Linked DNA regions of Homo sapiens: all the other regions are linked to region 5. Evidence: promoter capture Hi-C in 16 types of primary human blood cells and fetal thymus (Javierre and others, 2016). All regions are on one chromosome and are shown on one strand. The core of a region is centred on a gene start or on the middle of the fragment in contact, and the rest is flanking DNA. Distances in the headings are between cores, read along the strand shown. Region 1 overlaps R3HDM2 (R3H domain containing 2). Region 2 overlaps R3HDM2 (R3H domain containing 2). Region 3 overlaps R3HDM2 (R3H domain containing 2). Region 4 holds the start of STAC3 (SH3 and cysteine rich domain 3). Region 5 holds the start of PIP4K2C (phosphatidylinositol-5-phosphate 4-kinase type 2 gamma).

Region 1 (2,700 bases), core at 14-2,513, 270 kb before region 5:
CATGGAATCTCATAACTGTAAGGGTATTTAGAAGCTTTCTCATTCTCCATTTTTCTTTTTCTTTTTTTTGAGATGGAGTTTCGCTCTATTGCCCAGGCTGGAGTGCAAGCGGCATGATCTCGGCAACCTCCGCCTCTCGGGTTCAAGCAATTTCCGGCTAATTTTTGTACTTTTAGTAGAGAAGGGGTTTCACCATGTTGGCCAGGCTGGTCTCGAACTCCTGACCTCAAGTAATCTGCCCGCCTCAGCCTCCCAAAGTGCTAGGATTACAGGCGTGAGCCACTACGCCCAGCCTTAGCTCCATTTTTCTACAACCGTAGTCTTCCATAATTAGGTTCTTAACTCATTAGTAACTGTGAAAAATGTCCCTGCTTGTATACCTCTTAGTGAAGGGAAAGTCTTCACCTCCAGAAAGAAACCATTTCTTTTTGGAACACTTTCCTTTTAAAGAGGCAAAATTTACCTCTTTGGTAGTTCCTCCCACCGGCCCCTGTTTAGCCTTCTGTGCGAGTCATAAAGAACAAGCTTAATCTTGCTTCCCTATCAGCTCTTTGTAAAAGAAAACTTTACCTTATTTCCTTCTCTAAACATTCCCAGCTTCTTTAAGTCAAGCTTTCAAATCACATGGCTTTAAGTCTCCTTACCATTTTCTTCTAGGATAAAAGAAACTGCCCTGAAAGTAGGCAGAGGCGAGTAATGAGGGGTCAGACTGTTACTAATACAGAGTTAAGATCCACTGGAAGATAAACTAAGCATAAAACTGTATTTCTTAGGCTGAGGCTCTCTTTTGCTTTCCAAAATAACCTTTAATTAAGGTCATTTCCAGTCCTTTCAGCCAATGCAGAAGGCTCTCGTTACTCTTGGGGCATAAAGATTCCTGGAAACAATTTTTTCTGGGCCAAAACAAAAGCAAAAGAAAGCAACCAACTAAAAAAAGCCTTAGGCTGGGCGTAGTGGCTCACGCCTGCAATCCCACCACTTTGGGAGGCGGGCGGATCACTGAGGTCAGGAGTTTGAGATGAGCCTGGCCAACACGGTGAAACCCCGTTTCTACTAAAAATACAAAAAATTAGCTGGGGGTGGTGGTGCGTGCCTGCTAATCCCAGCTACTCAGGAGGCTGAAGCAGGAGAATCGCTTGAACCCGGGAGGTGGAGGTTGCAGTGAGCCAAGACTGCTCCACTGCACTCCAGCTTGGGCAACAAGAGTGCAACTCTATCTCAAAAAAAAAAAAAAAAAAAAAAAAAAAGCCTTAAACAGCTAAAATAAAGCCAGTAGTAGCTTAAAAGGCAGAGAAGTAATTCCATTCTTAATAGTTTATTTGGTATAGAGAAGAAATTAAGGGTTTGGGAGGTTTTTGATGGGAGAAGAAAGGAACTACTTCATATGTAATGGTGACTAGAACAAAGCAGACATTAGGCTCCCAGGAGGGCCTAGATGTGTGCTTCCCTACAACCTATTTGTGTACAGTGTACATTTCATCCAGCCAAATAGTACAATTTCAAAGGCAAGATGTCTCCTGAGGATACTCAGTAGCTCAAAGCTGCACAGAGGGGACTGTGAGATGTCGGGGGAACAGGTGGGGCAGTGAAGAAATAGGATAATACAGGGGAAGATTATTGGAAGCCAAGATTCACCTATTTTTTTCAGGGAGAATACTGCATATTCCCTATAATTTTTTTTACTGCTAGGGTAAGTACCTTCCATAATAGAGTGAGATTATATATCCTTCCATCAATTTATAAACAACTTTCTAGGCATTGAGCCAAAAGGAATATGTTAGATAGGGGATATTCAGAGACAGAAGAATAATTTCATTTTCTCACTTTTAATCTATGGCCAAGTAGAGAGAATGCAAGCAAGACAACGATATCTAGGTGCTAAAAATTCTGGTCTACCCTGTGGCAAATTCCTTGGAAGCTTTCCGGTCCTGTACTAATTTGTTTATCAATCATAAGTTACTCTCAATTGATACATTTTAAAAAATGTTTAAAATCTAGGGGCTCAGGAGAATAAACAAATGTAATATTATTTAATAATAAAAAAGACTGAACTATAGGCTGAGCATCCCTAATGAGAAAATCTGAAATCTGAAAGAGTACAAAATCCAAAGCTTTTTGAGCACCAATATGATGCTCAAGGGATGTACATAGGAACATTTCCAATTTTGGGTTTTGGATTATGGATGGTCAACCATAATATTCCAAAATTTAAAAAAATTTCCAAAATCCAAAAAATCTTAAATCTGAAATACAGACAGTCCCAAGCATTTTGGGTAAAGGTTGCTCAACCTTACTGTACATACTGAGACACACAAAAACATGGATAGGGCCGGGCACAGTGGCTCATGCCTGTAATCCTAGCACTTTGGGAGGCCAGGTTGGGTGGATCACCTGACGTCAGGAGTTCGAGACCAGCCTGACCAACATGGTGAAACCCCGTCTCTACTAAAAATGCAAAAATTAGCCGGGTGTGGTGGTGGCATGCCTGTAATCCCAGCTACTCGGGAAGCTGAGGCAGAAAAATTGCCTGAACCGGGAGGCAGAGGTTGCAGTGAGCCAAGAACGGGCCATTGCACTCCAGGCTGGGCAACAAGAGCGAAACTCCGTCTTGGAAAATAAAACAAAACAAAACAAAAGCATGGATGGATCTCAAAACTACTATGATAAATTAAAGAAAGTAGACTCTCCTCCCCACCCCCT
Region 2 (2,700 bases), core at 70-2,569, 290 kb before region 5:
ATATCAGAAATCCACTATGCAAATCATTTCCCTCCTAGGGACCCACCCAAAGCTAAAAACTATAGGGTGACTCATTAGAAATCTACCTATAAACATTTACTGAGACTCAATACAATAAAACCAAGGATTACAGTAAATACCAAAGTACAAAACATGACAGGTATGCTCTAAGTAGTGCAGTATAGCAGAAAGAACTTGCGAGCCTGAAGAATTAACATCATGCCTAATTCTGTCACTTGCTACTGAATGTTAAGCTACTGCTACTGATTTGTTAAGCCACTCAATCCCTATAGCCTAAGTTTCCTCATCTGTAAGATGGAGATAATAGCTGTCTTACTTATCCCAAAAAATTTGAGAGGAACTAAAGTAGCAGTAAGTAACCTTTGTTTTGAACTTTAACATCAAGCCCGTCACTATGGATCAGGCCATGTAAGGCAAGCCACAGAGCCAATTTATCATAGTTCTTGGCCTTCTTCAAACTCAAGCCACATAGTGGCTGAGCCACTCTCCAAATTCTATCATTATTTTTTTGGAGGAACAGGGTGGCCAACCTTAATTATTACTTTTGGTGGCAATTCTTCCCAATGCAAGAAAAATTTAATACTTTACTGCTTCCCAGCTAAATTAAAAACCTATCACACACTAACACATGTAGTCTTCCCTGATAACTCTGCTTAAAATAATCTGTGATGTGCTAAGTTTATCATATAATGATTAAAAGCAAAATCCTCTTCCTGCCCCCTAAAAAGTAAAGCATTAGGTTAGCTGAGTGCGGTGGCTCATGCCTGTAAACCCGGCACTTTGGGAGGCCAAGACAGGTGGATCGCTTGAGCCCAGGAGTTCGAGAACAGCCTGCGTGACATGGCAAAATCCCACCTCTACTAAAAACACAAAAATTAGCCTGGCCTAGTGGTGTGTGCCTGTAAGCCCAGCTGCTTGGGAGGCTAAGGCATGAGAATCACTTGAACACGGAAGGCAGAGGTTGCAGTGAGCCGAGATCACACCACTGCACTCCGGCTACAGAGTAAGACTCCATCTCAAAAAGAAAAGAAAAGAAAAGAAAAATGGCCAGGCATGGTGGCTCATGCCTGTAATCCTAGCACTTTGTGGGGCTGAGACGGGTGGATCACCTAAGGTCAAGAGTTCGAAGCCGGGCACGGTGGCTCATGCCTGTAATGCCAGTACTTTGGGAGACCGAGGTGGGCAGATCACTTGAGGTCAGGAGTTCGAGACCAGCCTGACCAACATGGTGAAACCTCATCTCTCCTAAAATTACAAAAATTAGCCAGGCATGGTGGCGGGCGCCTGTAATCCCAGCTACTTGGGAGGCTGAGGCAGGAGAAATGCTTGAATCCAGAAGACGGAGGTTGCAGCGAGCCAGGATTGCACCATCGCACTAAAGCCTGGGCAAGAGAGCAAAAAATTCCGTCTCAAAAAAAAAAAAAAAAAAAGTAAAACATTAGGGGGAAAAAAAAGCCTGTATTTTTAGGATATCCAGAAATGTTGAGTCATTTTTCTTAGTGGGGCAGGATTTATCATAAAGAAAACTCACAAGGAAAAAAAAAAAAAAAGAAGGGGGAATAAAAAGACTCATATAAGCAGCCATTCTCCTAGAGAAGCTAGGAGTGAGCAGAGAAACTGGTATTTCAGCACAACTAGTATCCAGTTCTTTCAGGCTCTGTGGAAGGCTCCAGCTGGGTAGCCTTTCAGGCATCAAATGTGTATACACCTATGTACGCCTACACAGTTTCCATTAGAGGTATGTATGTGTATGTGTACATGTGTGTATGCACACTTACGCAGGTTCACAATTGGGGTACAGAGTACAGGCAAGAAAACTCTGCCTACATAATTTGAACAAACTAGATATTCATGACAAGTCTACTTGTGAAATGTATTACTAATAACATTAGAAAAGAAGCTAGAGGAAGGGCTCTCACCTTGGCTCTTTTCCTGGCATGACCATGGTTAGATGTCCGCCTCTGTTAGAAGGGAATTGGAAAATATTAAAGGTGGAAGAAAATCGACATGTAAGTTAAAAACAATACATGTTTATAAAGAAAAAGCACTAACTGTAAAAACCATTACAACAGCCAAACTATGATGAGGACCACTTGATGTGGGTTTCTCCCTACAACCTACAACTCTAACAACTGTGACAGGAAAGGGACTACAGGCCAATACAGTCAAATCACCATTCACCATTAAGTTAGAGAATCAGAAGATGGTCAGATGTGGTGGCTCATGCCTGTAATCCCAGCACTTTGGGAGGCCGAGGCAGGCGGATCCCTTGAGCTCAGGAGTTTGAGACCAGCCTGGGCAACAAGGCGAAATCCCATCTCTACAAAAAAAAAAACAAAACCAAAAAGACAAAGAAAAAGAAAAAGAAAAAAAAAATTAGCCATGTGTGGTGGCATGCACCTGTAGTCTCAGGTATCTGGGAGGCTGAGGTGGGAGGATGGCTTGAGCCTGGGAAGAGGAGGTTGCAGTGAGCCGAGATCACGCTACTGCACTCCAGCCTGGGTGATAAGAGCCAGACCCTGTTTCAAAAACCAAACAACAAAAACCATTAAAAAGAAAAAAAAAGAGTTGGAAGACACTGATTTTGTTGGCCTATTTCACAGACTGATAAAAGTTACTTTTGGACAAACCATGGTATCCTGTCTTATTTAGGATGCTTCTGCAAATGTCACTACCACA
Region 3 (2,700 bases), core at 93-2,592, 310 kb before region 5:
TACCATTAGAAACTGAACAATAATTATTCTCAGGCTCAGCAACTTTGGTCTAGGGAGCCCCCAGTGCTGAAGGCCAATCAGGGAAAAAGAAAGCAAAAGAAAGAAAGAAAATGGCAGTAGGAAGAGGAATAAAAAAATAAAGAGGAAGGGTGAAAAAGTGGAGAGGGAGAAAAAAGGAGATACATACAGTGAGATGGTGGGATAATTTTTAGCAGCTTCCATAAATGCTTCCAGGGCATCAAAACCTGGATAAATTCTTTCATTTGGAGTTAGTGATCACAATTAATCTCAAGAATGAATTTCTAAGAGAACAGGAATTGCTGCACCAAGTAGTGTTCCTTTACCCCCGAGCTATAGCACCTAACCTGGCACCACACTCCCCATAGGAGATAAGCCAATGCCAACGATCGACCAATTGACCCTCACAATCCAGTAGCAGGGACAGAACCTGAGTAGAAGATTGGGGTTTAGGGCCAGTCACTTGGACATTCTGTATAAATTTCAGTCCCAAATGGTTCTTTTATCTCTTTATTCCTCTCCCACTCTTGCCGTCTCGTCTGTTTCTAGGTATGAGATTATAGGTGGAAGATGCAGGCAGATGGGAGACTAAGAGGGAGAAAAGGGAGCAAGACTATTAAAATACACATTTTAGGGAAAAAAAAACCTAGAAAATATTAGGACCTTGGAAAAGCAAGTCATACACATAAAAAACACGGTAGCAGATGACAGAAGGAGAAGCATAGTTTACCCACTTACAGGTTTGAATTAAGACACAGACAGAGAAAAGTACACATACAAGGACACTATGCTTCAGTAGGGAGCAAGGTAAACTGAAGTGAACGAGACTTACTGGGGTAGATGGTGGTAGAACAAGAAAGTTAGGACTATAGAAAGAACTGACTTAGACTAAGATAGAGGACTGCAATGACTTGCATGCAAATTACATTTAGACACAAAGTAGGATTTCCTAGATCTTCACTGTTCTTTGTTTCAGCTTCATTTCACAATATTTGAGATAGGGCAATACTGGGCCATTCTGGGGTCTTTGCACTCTAGTTTCTAGTTCATGGGGTATTAGTGTTTGGGACTTGCTTCTTACACCTAGGGAAGAAATATATCTAAGGCCAAGCTGGACTAATAAGCAGAGGGATGAGGGAGCCTGGGAGGTAACATGAGAATGTAAACTACAGCAGAAAAGACTGCAGACACATGGGCTTTCCAGCTACCAGAGAATACTTCAGGATAAAGTATGGGGCTCTCCTCAAAAAGAGCTCTATTCGTGTGAGAAGGGAGTAAGTGAAGATCTCAGCACAGCTCTGCTCGGAGTATTAAGGTGACTTTTTTTTTTTTTTTTTTTTTTGAGACAGGGTCTTACTCTGTCGCCCAGGCTAGAGAGCAGTGGCGCGATCTCGGCTCGCCGCAACCTCCGCCTCATGGGTTCAAGCGATTCTCCTGCCTCAGCCTCCCTAGTAGCTGGGATTACAGGCACCCGCCACCATACGTGGCTAATTTTTGTATTTTTAGTAGGGACCGGGTTTCACCATGTTGGGCAGGCTGGTCTTGAACTCCTGACCTCAGGTGATTCACCCGCCTCAGCCTCCCAAAGTGCTGGGATTACAGGCTTGAGCAACCATGCCTGGCCTTAAGGTGACTTTTAAACATAGTCACCTTAATGACAATGGCCAGGCATGGTGGCTCATGCCTGTAATCTCAGCACTTTAGGAGGCCAAGGAGGGAGGATCACTTGAGCCCACAAGTTTGAGACCAGCCTAGGCAACATAAGCAAGACCCTATCTCAAAATAATAATAATAACAATACATTTTTTAAAAATTAAAAGAAAGAAATAAAACAGAATACTGAAGTTCTGGTTTAGAACAGGACTGATTCTTAGGCTAATGACCTTCCTGGTCTCCACAGATGCAAAACTTCACTTAAACTCTAGTTGGTACCAACATTTACCAGTCCAGCAACAGAAGGAGAAGGATACAGCCCTTTTGAGTCATGGAAAACAAAGACACATTTGGAGTCTTTGTGTTTCGTGGCATATGTATGGAAGGGGTCTTGAGTGTTATTTCTTTTTTCCGCAAACCCCAACACATAAATAGGTGTTTATGGGTCCACATAGTTGGTCAGATGATGGTGGAAGTTATAATCTTTTCAAGTTCCAATATATAGATGTAATGGAAAAAAATGCCTTGTTAATTACACATGGACATAGAGGGAGATGGGGTACAGTAGAAATGTGGTATGAAATAAAAGATTCTACTGACAATGTTCAGGAAGCAGAGGAAGAAATATAAAGCAAAAAACCCCCAAGCTGACTCAGTAGTTATTTGGCAAAACCTTTGCTCAAGGTTCTTCTTTCCCTACAACTAACAAATGAGAAATGGGGGAGAGAGTGGCATGTCTCCAAAAACTGATCCTTCCTGCCACCCACAGCACAAGAGACATGACGGTACATCTAAAGTTTGCTTGAATCAGAGTGGAGAGGACTCTGACACTGAGTGGTGACTCACCTGTGAGATCATGTGATTATTCAAGGGTGGCTGTTGCTGAGGCGTGGGTGGGAGAGCAGGAAGTTGCTGCTGCTGCTGCTGCTGTTGCTGCTGGGCAGTACAAGGGAGAAGCCCCCGGACAGACTGGGATGAGGTGACCTGGTTGCACACTTCTGGGGCACCTAGTGCCATACCTAAGGCAAA
Region 4 (2,700 bases), core at 144-2,643, 340 kb before region 5:
CACCCAGGCTGGAGTGCAGTGGCGTGATCATGGCTCACTGCAGCCTCGACCTCCCAGCCTGAAGCGATCCCCCTACCTCAGCTTCCTGAGTAGCTGGAACACAAGGTGCACACTACCTGGCTACTTTTTTATTTTTTGTAGAGACATGGTCTTGCTTTGTTGCCTAGGCTGGTCCCGAACTAGCTCAAGCAATCTTCCTGTTTCAACCTCCCAAATTGTTGAGACAGGCGTGAGCCACTGCACTGGGCCAAATACAGATCCTTTGGCAGGTTTTATTAACAGATTTCATGGAGGTCTAGAAAAAAGCTTAACATGGCCGGGTGTGGTGGTGCATGCCTGTAATCCCAGCACTTTGGGAGGCTGAGGCAGGCGGATCACTAGAGATCAGGAGTTCAAGACTAGCCTGGCCAACATGGTGAAACCCCATCTCTACTAAATATATAAAAATTAGCCGGGTGTGGTGGCGGACGCCTGTAATCCCATCCACTCAGGAAGCTGAGGAAGGATAATCGCTTGAACCCGGGAGGCGGAGGTTGCAGTGAGCCGGGATTGTGCCACTGCCCTCCAGCCTGGGTGACAGAGCAAGACTTCGTCTCAAAAAAAAAAAAAAAAAAAAAAAAAAAGCCCAACAGACTAAAGAGCTTCCCAATTAGTTCCTCAAACTGATACTCATCCTTCCATCCTGAGGGGCGACCCCATAGTTTACAGCCCTTACACAGTGTTCAAAGCTGCGTGGTTTACGTCATTTTCCTATAGGTACTTTGTTTCTCCTGGAAATCTGTGGGCAACAGAGATGTGATGCATACCTTCCCAGATCTCCTCTCTTCAAGAGGTTTAATGTGTGTCCTCGTGTGCACACAAGGAAGGATGGACTGGAGACATTTGTCCTCCCCTACTTTTTTCTTGAGCCCTGGGGGCCCTGTGCCTAGTTCTGTCCCAGCCTGCCTCAGGGCTCAGCTATTTTAAGTTTTCAGGGTAATATGAGCCTTTCCTTCCCTTACTACTTCATTCCCTTCACCCCACCCCCACCCCCACCCCCCGCTTCAATCCAAACTCATCCTAGAGTAGAATAATAATTTTACGCCTAAAACCCAAAAGACTCACAGACAAGGAGAGAAATGAAGAAGCTGAGTAGATTATAGATCAGGGCAGCTGGGGTGAGCAGTCGTGGAAATCAAGAGGATGAAGAGGTAACTTACGTTCGGGATTCCCTAAGTCAGTCCACAGGCTGTAGAGGGAGCTGGGAGCCTCGAGGCCTTGATGGTGGTGCTGGGGAAAAACTGGTCCTCTTCCTTGGGGGCTAAGCCCCCCCAGTACCCCCTGTGTTCACACCAGCTACCCAGTCGCTATTTGTAGACCTCCTAGCCTCCTGCCTTGGTGTCAGGGCTGAAATGACAGGGCTGGAGGAAAGTGGACAGCTGAGAAACACAGCTGACACAGAGAAATTGGACACTGAGAGGTCTGGGGCAGGGCCGGACCCTAACTCCTCCCAACCCCCTAGAGCTGCTGTTCCTTGATTCTTCATCTAAGGCGAACAGGTGAATAATGGCTGAATTCAGGAAGGGACAGTTTCTGTTCATGCTCATTTAACATTTAAGGGGAGTTTATTTTTATTTTTCATTTATTTTTTGAGACAGGGTAAAAAAAGACTAATTTGAACTCATAGAGCTCTCCTATCAGCCATACTAGATGGCTTTTTTTTTTTTTTTTTTGAGACAGAGTCTTGCTCTTGTTGCCCAGGCTGGAGTGCAATGAAGCGATCCGGGCTCACTGCAACCTCCCAGGTTCAAGCGATTCTCCTGCCTCAGCCTCCTAAGTAGCTGGGATTACAGGCGCCCACCACCACGCCAAGGTAATTTTTGTATTTTTAGTACAGATGGGGTTTCACCATGTTGGCCAGGCTGGTCTCGAACCCCTGACCTCAGGTGATCCGCCTGCCTTGGCCTCCCAAAGTGCTAGGATTACAGGTGTGAGCCACCGTGCATGGCTAGATTGCTTTTTATCTGTAGGTGGTTGGAGGAGTACTTTGCTATCCTGTAAGAAAGTGAAGAATATGTAGTATTGCTTCATTCCCTCCAGCAGCTCCCAGAGACATCTCCCCACCCTCCTTCTTGTAAAATTTTGTCCTCAGACTGAAGGGAATTACCAGGGCTATTAAAAAGGGCCAGTTAACACTGGACAGAAGCATATAGCTGCCACATAAGGAATTTTTTAAATCATTTCTAAGTAATGTCCCCTTCCTCATGAGAACTGCAAACTCTTAAAGGTAGGATGGCCAACCCTCACACTTCCTAAACCCTTTTGATTCCCTGATTCCATCTCCCACCTTTGATGCCTCAGTATATAACTGATGGATCAAAGAGACAGATGCCATTCTCATCTCACAGGGGTGCACCCTTCTACTCTTTGGGCTGTGACATGGATGAAAGAGGAGATACTCCCATCTCAGGGGAGAGCAATTTAGAGGTGGCAATGCAGTGCTGCTCTATTCCTTGTATCTGTAAGAAATAAAGGACTGTGTTGGAGACTGGGTCAGGCAAGCTCCTGTAGGATCGTCGTTAGGGATACAGCTACTTGGACCCAAGAGATTTCCAGGGCAACGTGCTTTGTCATTCTCACCCACTACTTTTTTCTATTTAAGGGGGGAGTTTGAAAAGGGGGTGCAGGATGGTTCTGACTCTGCAGGTTCTTTAATGGCCC
Region 5 (2,700 bases), core at 1-2,500:
GAGACAGAGTCTTGCTCTGTCGCCCAGGCTGGAGTGCAATGGCATGATCTGGGCTCACTGCAACCTCTGCCTCCTGGGTTCAAGCGATTCTCCTGCCTCAGCCTCTCAAGTAGCTGGGACTACAGGCACCTGCCAACATGCCCGGCTTTTTTTTTTTTTTTTTTGAGATGGAGTCTCACTCTGTCACCCAGGCTGGAGTGCAGTGGCGTGATCTCTGCTTGGCGTGATCTCTGCTTGGCGTGATCTCGGCTCACTGCTACCTCCGCCTCCTGGGTTCAAGTGATTCTCCTGCCTCAGCCTCCTGAGTAGCTGGGATTACAGGCTCACGCCACCACGCCCGGCTAATGCCCGGCTAATTTTTGTATTTTTGTAGAGACGAGGTTTCACCATGTTGGCCAGGCTGGTCTTGAACTCCCAACCTCAGGTGATCCTCCCGCCTCGGCCTCCCAAAGTGCTGGGATTACAGGCGTGAGTCACCGCGCCCGGCTTCGTTCTTTCTTGTCTCCATGTCTTTGTATGCTGTTCTCTTTGTCTAGACAGCCTTTTAACCTCTATTCCTGAACTCCACCCACCCTTCCAAACTCAGTAAAGTCTCTATCCTCTTTGAAGCCTTCCCTGACCAGCTACACTTCCTTTCTTTGTATCATTGTCTTTGCTTCATACACAGTTCTAGGATAGCTCATACTTTGCATACTGCAAACTTGATCTCCATTGGCCAGCCAGTGCCATTAGACTCCCAACTACTTCGGGGCAGTCACTGTCCTATACCCTGCTTCAATAAAAGGAAAATCAGCCCCTAGAACAGGACCTAGTACAACTAAGTGCACAATAAATACTTGTTAAATGAATGAATGAATTTCAAGACGCTTGAGACCACTGGTAAGAATTTTGGGTTTCCAAAACCCTCCCCTTCCCAACCCCCATTCGGTAAGAATGCTTTCGCATTAGCATCAGGTCCGAGGTTACTCATTAGAAACTGGGCAAAGCCGGAAGGCGGCCACTTTGCAGCAAAGAAGCCCTAGACCTTGGGAGTCAATCAGGCCAGCCCAGGCCGCACCACGGTCTCCTAGTTGACAGTTCGAGGGGCCTCGCGGGCCGCTTGCTTCGTCAGCTTACAGGGATCCCGCACGCCAGGTGAGCCCACACACTGAGCGGACATTGGGGCAGGCAGGCAGGCGCCGGGGGGCGGGGCCAGCGTCGCCCCGCCCCGTCCTGCCTCGCCCTGTTCGCGCGTCCGCTGTCCGGCCTCCGGTCACGTGACAGCAGCGCAGGTGAGCGCCGCTTCCGGGGTCGGGCGCCTGGATAGCTGCCGGCTCCGGCTTCCACTTGGTCGGTTGCGCGGGAGACTATGGCGTCCTCCTCGGTCCCACCAGCCACGGTATCGGCGGCGACAGCAGGCCCCGGCCCAGGTTTCGGCTTCGCCTCCAAGACCAAGAAGAAGCATTTCGTGCAGCAGAAGGTGAAGGTGTTCCGGGCGGCCGACCCGCTGGTGGGTGTGTTCCTGTGGGGCGTAGCCCACTCGGTGAGAACCAGCCCTAGACCCCCGCAGCCCTGTCCAAACCCCTCGGCTCCGAGGCGTCCCTGTTTCCAGGCTCCAGCCTCCGGAGCCCCACGCAGTGCCACTCCCCTCCCCCGGGTTGTCTTGGTCCCTGCCCACCAACCCCAGGTGTTCCCCCAGCAGGTTTTCTGACTGTGGACTTTTTTCTCCCCAACAGTTCTTTACTGCTCCACTCTAGTTCCACCTTCCCCCCGTGAAATCCAGCTCCCTGTGCTTTGACTCCTTCCTGCCATGTCTAGCTTCAGCCTCAGGCTACGCGGACTGGCCAGGACCGGGCGCAAGCGGGGAGGACATTAGGGGGAGTGGCTTTTTCTCGGGTGGTTGTTGGTGAGAGTGTAGGTGGAGGGTGAGGGGCCGAGGGGAGTAGATGGATGAAAAGGTTCTTTCACTTTGCTTTCCACCTTGCTTCCCAGCCCCGGTCCTTGGCTTTTGAATCTTGGTTTTGTCTCGGGGAAGCTCCAGGTTTCCTGGGCTTTCTAATCCTGCTTGTCCCTTCCTTTCCCTTCCAGAGGTACAGCATTTTAGAGAAGCTACCCCACCCTGAGCTAGAAGTTGCACACTCTCAGGACTTATGTATATATGCCTTTGGTCTTAACTGCATCCTTATCGCTGGCTAGAGCGATCGTGTTTGGTGTAGGTGGTGGCGATTGTTGACCAAAGAGAAGGCTGAGGGGCTCTGTTCCTGAGGTCACTATGGTGGTGAACTTTTGAAGCAGGAAACTGCTCTGGGAGTCAGGAGGAGGCCAAGGAGACCTCCATCCCCTTTCCTGAGGATACCTCAGCTGAAAGAAGCACAGCCATTGCCCATCTTCCGTCAGGTCTGGAGTGGGAGAAATGCAGTTATCTTGAATGTGACACGGAATATTTTCGAAATCAGCGTTCTTGAATATAGTCATGGCTAGGCTGTGGAGATGGAAGTTGTGAGGAAGAATACGCGTTTTGTCACATTTTTAATTTGTGGTAAAGAATTTCTTAACCAAAAATTAAGAATGTTGTTTGTGGCCAGTCGGATCTCTTTTGGATTTGTGGCTCTCTGGGTGGTAAGCTCTTAGTGAGTATTCAGTGGAAGGCACTTGGTATGGGGAAGGCTGATGGAGGTAGGGCTGCCTCTCATATGTACCTTCCAGGTGATTCATCCATTC

The links. Contacts are between HindIII fragments. The CHiCAGO score rates a contact against its expected background, and 5 or more counts as called.
Region 1: a contact is called between a fragment that was not itself captured here and the fragment with the promoter of PIP4K2C in region 5, in 3 of 17 cell types (M2 macrophages, erythroblasts and naive CD8 T cells). The highest score is 7.9, in M2 macrophages.
Region 2: a fragment that was not itself captured here is called in contact with the fragment with the promoter of PIP4K2C in region 5 in 3 of 17 cell types (neutrophils, M2 macrophages and megakaryocytes); the score reaches 8.8 in neutrophils.
Region 3: a contact is called between a fragment that was not itself captured here and the fragment with the promoter of PIP4K2C in region 5, in 3 of 17 cell types (M2 macrophages, neutrophils and erythroblasts). The highest score is 7.9, in M2 macrophages.
Region 4: a contact is called between the fragment with the promoter of STAC3 here and the fragment with the promoter of PIP4K2C in region 5, in 2 of 17 cell types (neutrophils and naive CD8 T cells). The highest score is 8.4, in neutrophils.

Annotation. Positions count from the first base shown.
Region 1 is chr12:57,319,042-57,321,741 of GRCh38, forward strand. All of the region lies in intron 2 of R3HDM2 (R3H domain containing 2), which reads right to left. Among named protein-coding and RNA genes, the nearest start is that of STAC3, 69 kb to the left of the region's middle. The HindIII fragment of the contact is 1,306 bases long and covers 611-1,916 here.
Region 2 is chr12:57,301,236-57,303,935 of GRCh38, forward strand. It overlaps R3HDM2 (R3H domain containing 2), which reads right to left. Exons shown (of 24, transcript NM_001394031.1): 4 at 1,941-1,982. Among named protein-coding and RNA genes, the nearest start is that of STAC3, 51 kb to the left of the region's middle. The HindIII fragment of the contact is 4,597 bases long and covers 1-2,700 here.
Region 3 is chr12:57,277,841-57,280,540 of GRCh38, forward strand. It overlaps R3HDM2 (R3H domain containing 2), which reads right to left. Exons shown (of 24, transcript NM_001394031.1): 14 at 2,518-2,690. Among named protein-coding and RNA genes, the nearest start is that of STAC3, 28 kb to the left of the region's middle. RefSeq lists an enhancer at 1,940-2,700. The HindIII fragment of the contact is 2,822 bases long and covers 1-2,700 here.
Region 4 is chr12:57,249,794-57,252,493 of GRCh38, forward strand. It overlaps STAC3 (SH3 and cysteine rich domain 3), which reads right to left and starts at 1,394. Exons shown (of 12, transcript NM_145064.3): 1 at 1,200-1,394. The HindIII fragment of the contact is 3,998 bases long and covers 305-2,700 here.
Region 5 is chr12:57,589,942-57,592,641 of GRCh38, forward strand. It overlaps PIP4K2C (phosphatidylinositol-5-phosphate 4-kinase type 2 gamma), which reads left to right and starts at 1,251. Exons shown (of 10, transcript NM_024779.5): 1 at 1,251-1,522. The coding sequence starts at 1,349. RefSeq lists enhancers at 859-908, 989-1,490 and a silencer at 1,089-1,348. The HindIII fragment of the contact is 11,010 bases long and covers 1-2,700 here.